2 separate regions of the Homo sapiens genome follow, and region 1 is linked to region 2. Evidence: promoter capture Hi-C in 16 types of primary human blood cells and fetal thymus (Javierre and others, 2016). All regions are on one chromosome and are shown on one strand. Each heading gives the region's core, a stretch centred on a gene start or on the middle of the fragment in contact. The rest is flanking DNA. Distances are from core to core; before and after follow the strand shown. Region 1 holds the start of LAMTOR1 (late endosomal/lysosomal adaptor, MAPK and MTOR activator 1). Region 2 holds the start of TMEM179B (transmembrane protein 179B).

Evidence for each region. The method cuts DNA at HindIII sites, captures the fragments that hold promoters and counts their contacts. A CHiCAGO score of 5 or more calls a contact.
Region 1: the fragment with the promoter of LAMTOR1 here is called in contact with the fragment with the promoter of TMEM179B in region 2 in 1 of 17 cell types (neutrophils); the score reaches 5.0 in neutrophils.

What each region holds. Positions count from the first base shown.
Region 1 is chr11:72,101,801-72,105,184 of GRCh38, forward strand. It overlaps LAMTOR1 (late endosomal/lysosomal adaptor, MAPK and MTOR activator 1), which reads right to left and starts at 1,497. Exons shown (of 5, transcript NM_017907.3): 1 at 1,383-1,497. The coding sequence starts at 1,424. It overlaps LRTOMT (leucine rich transmembrane and O-methyltransferase domain containing), which reads left to right. Exons shown (of 9, transcript NM_001145310.4): 6 at 3,164-3,212. It also overlaps the pseudogene LOC124902837. RefSeq lists enhancers at 1,203-1,282, 2,063-2,583 and a silencer at 1,383-1,652. The HindIII fragment of the contact is 8,877 bases long and covers 34-3,384 here.
Region 2 is chr11:62,786,067-62,789,268 of GRCh38, forward strand. TMEM179B (transmembrane protein 179B) reads left to right here and starts at 1,336. Exons shown (of 5, transcript NM_199337.3): 1 at 1,336-1,461; 2 at 2,957-3,144. The coding sequence starts at 1,366. TAF6L (TATA-box binding protein associated factor 6 like) reads left to right here. Exons shown (of 11, transcript NM_006473.4): 10 at 194-322; 11 at 451-1,276. The coding sequence ends at 1,230. It also overlaps a transcript of TMEM223 not described here. RefSeq lists an enhancer at 407-606 and a silencer at 857-966. The HindIII fragment of the contact is 7,473 bases long and covers 1-3,202 here.

The DNA.
Region 1 (3,384 bases), core at 247-2,746, 9.3 Mb after region 2:
GAGCAGCAGGCCCAGCTCTCCCTTCCAAGTAGAAGCTTGTATCCTTTCTCATACGGCATTAATCCTTCTTGACTCATTCCCTGCAAGAGTCCATATTATGCTTTAAGGGACAATTTCCCACTAGGCTACAGCTCTCCCAGTAGGCAGGGTTATTGTTGTCTCTTTCTCAAAAAGGTGGAAGTGAAGTGAGAGGTATTAGGCACAACACATGCCTAACACAGGGCAAAGGAAATATGTGTTCATTGGGTGTATGGAGAATTGAGAACCAGAAGCCACCCTTGCTTCCCATACAAACGACATTTTCCTAGGCTTAAGCCCTTAATCCAAAATACGTTCACTGAAGAACGAACTACTTCCCAAGTACCAGTGATATAATCTATTTTTGTGACCATCTTCCCCATTAGACCGTGAGCTACCTGAAACCTTTCTACTCTCTCAGGTCTACTATATGTTCAAATGTAGAATCCGGGCTTAGAGACGATCAAAAAAGGAGAGTAGACAGCAACTTGAGACTTCATCCTTGAATGTCAGGCCAGGCAGGGCAGGGATTAGAGTGTGGGGAGAAGTGAGAATGCACTAAGAGGAAGAGGGAGAATTTAAAACTGTACAGGTCTCCCCAGCCTAACCCTTTCTCCAAAGGTATCAGATCTACAGCCAAATTCTCAGAATAGGCATGTCTCCAGCTAAAGGAACCCTCAGGCCCCAGGCAGACTGCACTGAGGCAAGCCAAACTCAGAACCAAATGAACTTCCCGCTCCATTTCTCTTTTCCCACAATCTAGCCAAAGCTAAATCCTCTTTGTTGCTTCCCAGACAATTTCCCACATGTCCCGATGTCCTCACTGTATCGATTAAATCCTTCATTGGCCAATTCAAAGGCCACCAACTTCCAGAGTCGTCCCCTGGCCCTAGACTAGCAGCGACCTTCCTTCTGCAACCCCAGGGACTAAGACGATACACGAATTCCTGATTCATCTCAGGACAGACTAACTCAGGGCCTCAGCTTACCCACCCCTAAAATGGATTCGCAAAGCCCACTAATACACAGAAGACACAGGAAGCTGGGGAAGGGAGTGTTTCCCGGGGACCTAGACTGAGGATCCTTGAATCTGAAAAGTTTTGAAGGTAGGAGCAAACGGAAGTGGTGGGAGCGAGCCGGACAGGCGGCTGCCTGCACACCCCGAGGCGGGGACTGTGTAGAAATCTGGGGCTTTAACAGGGGTAGGAGCCCGGCTTGGCGTCTCCTCTGTAATCTGTCCCCTCCAGGCCTCCGTATTCAGTGAGCCCTGCAGTCCGGCTGCCCGTCCTCCGCAGGTTTCTTTCTGGGCCCCATGCCCCAGTGTCTTAGCCCTCATTCCCGAGCCCCGCCTGCCGCGGCCGCACCTGGTCCGAGTCCTCGTTCTCGCTGCTGTAGCAGCACCCCATGGCCGGGGTCGGGCCGGGCGCTCAGGCCGCGCCGAGGAGGGACGGCGTCCGTGAGGAGCCCTTCCGGTCACATGACCCGCGGCGGCCTCCCGCAGGCAACCACCCGCCCCCACCCCCCGTACCCCCTGTCCCGGAGCCGCTTGGCCGCCTCAGTCAATACCCCGGCTTCCGGTCCCGCCCGCTAGCGCGTGATCGTTGTCAACCAATGGGAAGGCGTAACCGTACACGCAAGCACGTGATGCGGGGAAAGGGCGGGGCGGATCACATGACTTCATCTTTCCAGTCTCTAAACTGGCAGTAGTGGCCATCGTGAATTGTGTTATGCGTTCTCGTGGCCACTAGGCCACTTTTCTGGGCCATTGAGCGAACTCGTACCAAATGCCCTCGTATGCCCTTGTGATATACTCTTCTAAATGCCATGCGAGGGGCGACTGGGATCCAGGCCTGATGCTCCAGATCGTACGGTCTGGGTGCACACACACAGATGATCCAGATGACCAGTACCTAGTCGGGGAACACAGAGGGTGTATCGCCCAGCTGGGCTGGGGGTGAATACACAGAGGGTGTATTCTCCACCTGGGCTGGGGATCTGCGACTTACAGGAAGAAGGGACCTTATACTACCTTCACATGCTGACGCGCAGCGGAGATAAATCCTGGTAGAGGAGATAGAAGCCACCTCACTGACCTCTCTGCTTTCAGGCTTTTATCTTTAATTCTGCCTTTTTTAACAGCACCCATTGTAATCGAACGCACAAAGCTGACCATCAGTTCTCTTTTCCTAACCCCCGCTCCATGTCTTCCCTTGGGCCCTGAACACAGGTCCAAGTCCGTCCAAGATTGTATAGTGATCCATTTGTTGTTCATGAGCGTGTGATTGGGTGTTCACCAGCATGTATCAAATGTGCCACCCTCAAATCTTGTTTTGGCACATTACCCGTCTGACATAACAAGAGCCTGACACCTCTCCCACTGCATGTTCTGGGGTGAGGGGTGGAGGGGTCAGCAATGTGTTTCACTGGACATAGAGAAATAATGTAGTTTCCTGATTGATCTACTGGACTTTGTACATGCAGCCTGGTCTGCCTACTGTCTTTACTGTCTTCGAGACTCAGTACAATGTCCTCCTGATTACCTTCTCTGACTCCATTCTCTGGACATGCCCAGCTCCCTATGCTTAATCCTCATCCAGTGTTAATTCATGCATTTATTGAATCAACAAATATTTGCTGAGCGTCTACTATGTGCCACACATTGTTATATCTGGATATGCAGCAGTTCACAAAACAGCCAAAGTCCCTGTAGTCATGGAACATCCAATAGTGATCACACTATATTGTATTCTCTGTTCCTGGGTCAGTCTCACCTACCAAACTTGGGAGTTCCTGGAGCACAGTGACAGGTTCTGACTCTTCCCTGTAGCCCAAGGCATGGCCTTGCTTACAGAAAACTTGCATATCAATGAGCATGTTACAGTCACCCCATCACCTTGGCTCACCCCATGCCCCATCTTCTGATCCAAAGTATTGGAGAAGTCACCAGATCTCATACCTCTTATAACCCCTCAAATCAAGACCCTGAGGTTCTGTAAATCTTTTGAGGTTCCTGAAGGGTAGGAGGCAGCTCAAGCTCGTCCCTGGGGCTGGTAACTTGAACTGCAGGTCTCAGGTGACAGCAGCAGCCTCAGCATGAATAATTGAAAGCCATTCCAGCCTCCTACCTCAGGGTTATCCCCCGCAGCAGGCCCTGGACTCCCCGACCTGTCCTGTGCTCTGGTCCTCCAGCCCAGGTAAGCAGGGCCCTGGATTGTGGGTTCCCAAGCTCACCAGTTCAAGCCCACCGCATCACTCACCTATTCACACCCATCCATACACTCTTTCATTTTTACTCCCCGCCATCACCAGGGGCCTTGCAAGAAGGCCGGCAAGGAGGTCAGATCTGGATGAGGAGGAGAATGGTCC
Region 2 (3,202 bases), core at 86-2,585:
TTATTCCCAATGCCTAGCTTAGGTATACAGTAGGTTCCAAATAAATATATGGTTGAATATGCCAATCAGGGAATTTAGGAGGATTGAGCCCTGTCTAGGATCAGAGATAAAGGTAGGTCTTTCATGGGAAAGGGTCCTTGAGAGGGAATAAGTATCAAAGACATGCTAACTGTATTCCTTCTCTTCCTTCCAGGCAGTAGAACGAGTCCTGTACCCACACCTGTCCACCTACTGGACAAACTTGCAGGCTGTGCTGGATGATTATTCAGTATCTAATGCCCAGGTCAAAGCAGATGGACACAAAGTCTATGGAGCCATTCTGGTGAGTACCGTCCCCTTCCAGCCTCCCTTCCCTGCATGAGCTTAGCAGCCAAGCAGGCTTACTTTGGAATATTTGATGGGCCCAGGTTCCTCGAATTTTTTGCCTATCTTAGTCCTTGGCTCTTACAGGTGGCGGTAGAGCGACTGCTGAAGATGAAGGCCCAGGCAGCAGAGCCCAACAGGGGTGGCCCAGGTGGCAGGGGGTGCCGGCGCCTGGACGACCTGCCATGGGACAGCCTTCTCTTTCAAGAGTCGTCCTCCGGGGGCGGTGCAGAACCCAGCTTTGGGTCCGGCCTCCCGCTGCCGCCAGGGGGCGCGGGGCCGGAGGACCCTTCTCTTTCGGTGACCCTGGCCGACATCTACCGGGAGCTCTACGCCTTCTTCGGTGACAGCTTGGCCACACGCTTTGGCACCGGCCAGCCTGCACCCACGGCTCCGCGGCCGCCCGGGGACAAGAAGGAGCCGGCGGCAGCCCCGGACTCGGTGCGGAAGATGCCGCAGCTGACGGCAAGCGCCATAGTCAGCCCGCACGGCGACGAGAGCCCCCGGGGCAGCGGCGGAGGCGGCCCCGCGTCGGCCTCTGGGCCCGCCGCCTCTGAGAGCAGGCCCTTGCCGCGCGTGCATCGGGCGCGCGGGGCACCCCGGCAGCAGGGCCCCGGGACCGGCACCCGCGACGTTTTCCAGAAGAGCCGTTTCGCCCCGCGCGGCGCCCCGCACTTTCGTTTCATCATAGCCGGGCGGCAGGCTGGGAGGCGCTGCCGCGGGCGCCTTTTCCAGACTGCCTTCCCCGCGCCGTACGGGCCTAGCCCGGCCTCGCGCTACGTGCAGAAACTGCCCATGATCGGCCGTACCAGCCGCCCCGCCCGCCGGTGGGCGCTCTCGGACTACTCGCTGTACTTGCCGCTCTGAGTCAGTGGCCCCTTCGTTCCTTGTAAATAAATCCCGCCCCCGGAAATGACGTCTCCACCTTCGTGGGTCGCGCCGGATAAGGTGGGCTTTGGGCGGGGTGCTGCTGCAGCGGCGCTTCCTGGTGGTCAGGGCGCCATGGCGCTGTCCTGGCTGCAGCGCGTCGAGCTTGCGCTCTTTGCTGCCGCCTTCCTGTGCGGGGCCGTGGCGGCCGCGGCGATGACTCGGACCCAGGTGCGGCTGCGGGGCGGGGTCAGGTAGGCGGGGGAGCTGGCCGGTCTGGACATGGCGAGGCCACTTTCGCTTTCCGACCGGGCTTGCTGCTGCTCGGAGCCGGTGGACCTGGTGAGGCACGGCTGGCGCCGGCCTGTACCTGAAATGCAGCGAGGCTAATCGCGCTTTGTGGCTCCTCCTGGCCAGGTCATACTTCGAAGTTGTCCCCTCGCCAAAGGGACGGGTCAGTAGCGTCTTAAAGCACTAGGTGGAGTCGGGTTTCGTGGCTCCTGCTGCACAGCCTTACTGTGGTTCCGAAACAGAAGTCAGTGCAGAACCTGCGTCCATCCGTTAAATCAGAAGCCATTTGTGCTGAGCTTTGTCGAGAAATAAAGCATAGTGTAGTGGAGATGATCAAGCTGCCACATGATTGTAGCACAGTGTGTTAAATGACAAAATGAGAGATGGAGAAAACGCTGACGTAAAGGTAGAAGCCAATAATTTACATCGTTTACCCCAGCCAGGTAATCTGGTTAATAAACATGGGTTCATTTAATGCCTATAAAGTAGGCACTAGTGTGCCTATTTTACACCATGAGAAAACCTCAGAGATCCGCCGGGCGCGGTGACTCACGCCTGTAATCCCAGCACTTTGGGAGGCTGAGGCAGGCGGATCACTTGAGGTCAGGAGTTCGAGACCAGCCTGGCCAACATGGCAAAACTCTGTCTCTACTAAAAATACAAAAATTAGCCGGGTGTGGTGGCTCATGCCTGTAATCCCAGCTACTTCGGAGGCTGAGGCAGGAGAATCGCTTGAACCTGGGAGGCGGAGGTTGCAGTGAGTCGAGATCGTGCCATTGCACTCCAGCCTGGGTGACGAGCGAATCTCCATCGCAAAAACAAAAACAAAAACACTGGCCGGGCCTGGTGGCTCACGCCTGTAATCCCAGCACTTTGGGAGGCCGTGGCAGGCGGATCACGAGGTCAGGAGATCAAGACCATCCTGGCCAACACGGTGAAACCCTGTCTCTACTAAAAATACAAACAATTAGCCAGGCATGGTGGCGGGTGCCTGTAGTCCCAGCTACTCAGGAGGCTGAGGCAGGAGAATGGCATGAACCCAGAAGGCAGAGCGTGCAGTGAGCCGAGATGGCGCCACTGCACTCCAGCAAAAAAAAAAAAAAAAAGCACCTCACAGATAGTTATTTGTTGAAGGATATACAAGGCCTGGGTTTACTCTAAGGTTTCTGCACAGAGACCATAACTTGTGAGGCTTCTCTGAAGCTCATTGCATTCTATATTCATTGCCTATTTTCTGATCCTTCTGGCCACTGCCGGTGTGATTCCCCAGCAGGCCCTCTCCATCAATATCCCTGTCCCAGAAATAGGAATTGACGGTGCACAAATAACTTCCTGGAATGCAGGACCATTCCTAAGTTATCACTAACACCCTACCAAGAGACTGTATCTAGAGACATTAACCTGAAATCTAGGACTCAGCAGCTTCTCTCCACAGGGCTCCTTCAGTGGTAGATGTCCCCTGTATGGTGTGGCCACCCTGAATGGCTCCTCCCTGGCCTTATCCCGTCCCTCAGCACCATCCCTGTGCTACTTTGTAGCTGGGGCCTCTGGCCTCTTGGCCCTCTACTGCCTCCTGCTTTTGCTCTTCTGGATCTACAGCAGCTGCATCGAGGACTCCCACAGGTGACTGCCTAACCCTGAGGGCCAGGGGCTGAGGTAGGATGAGCCTCACCTCCACCAC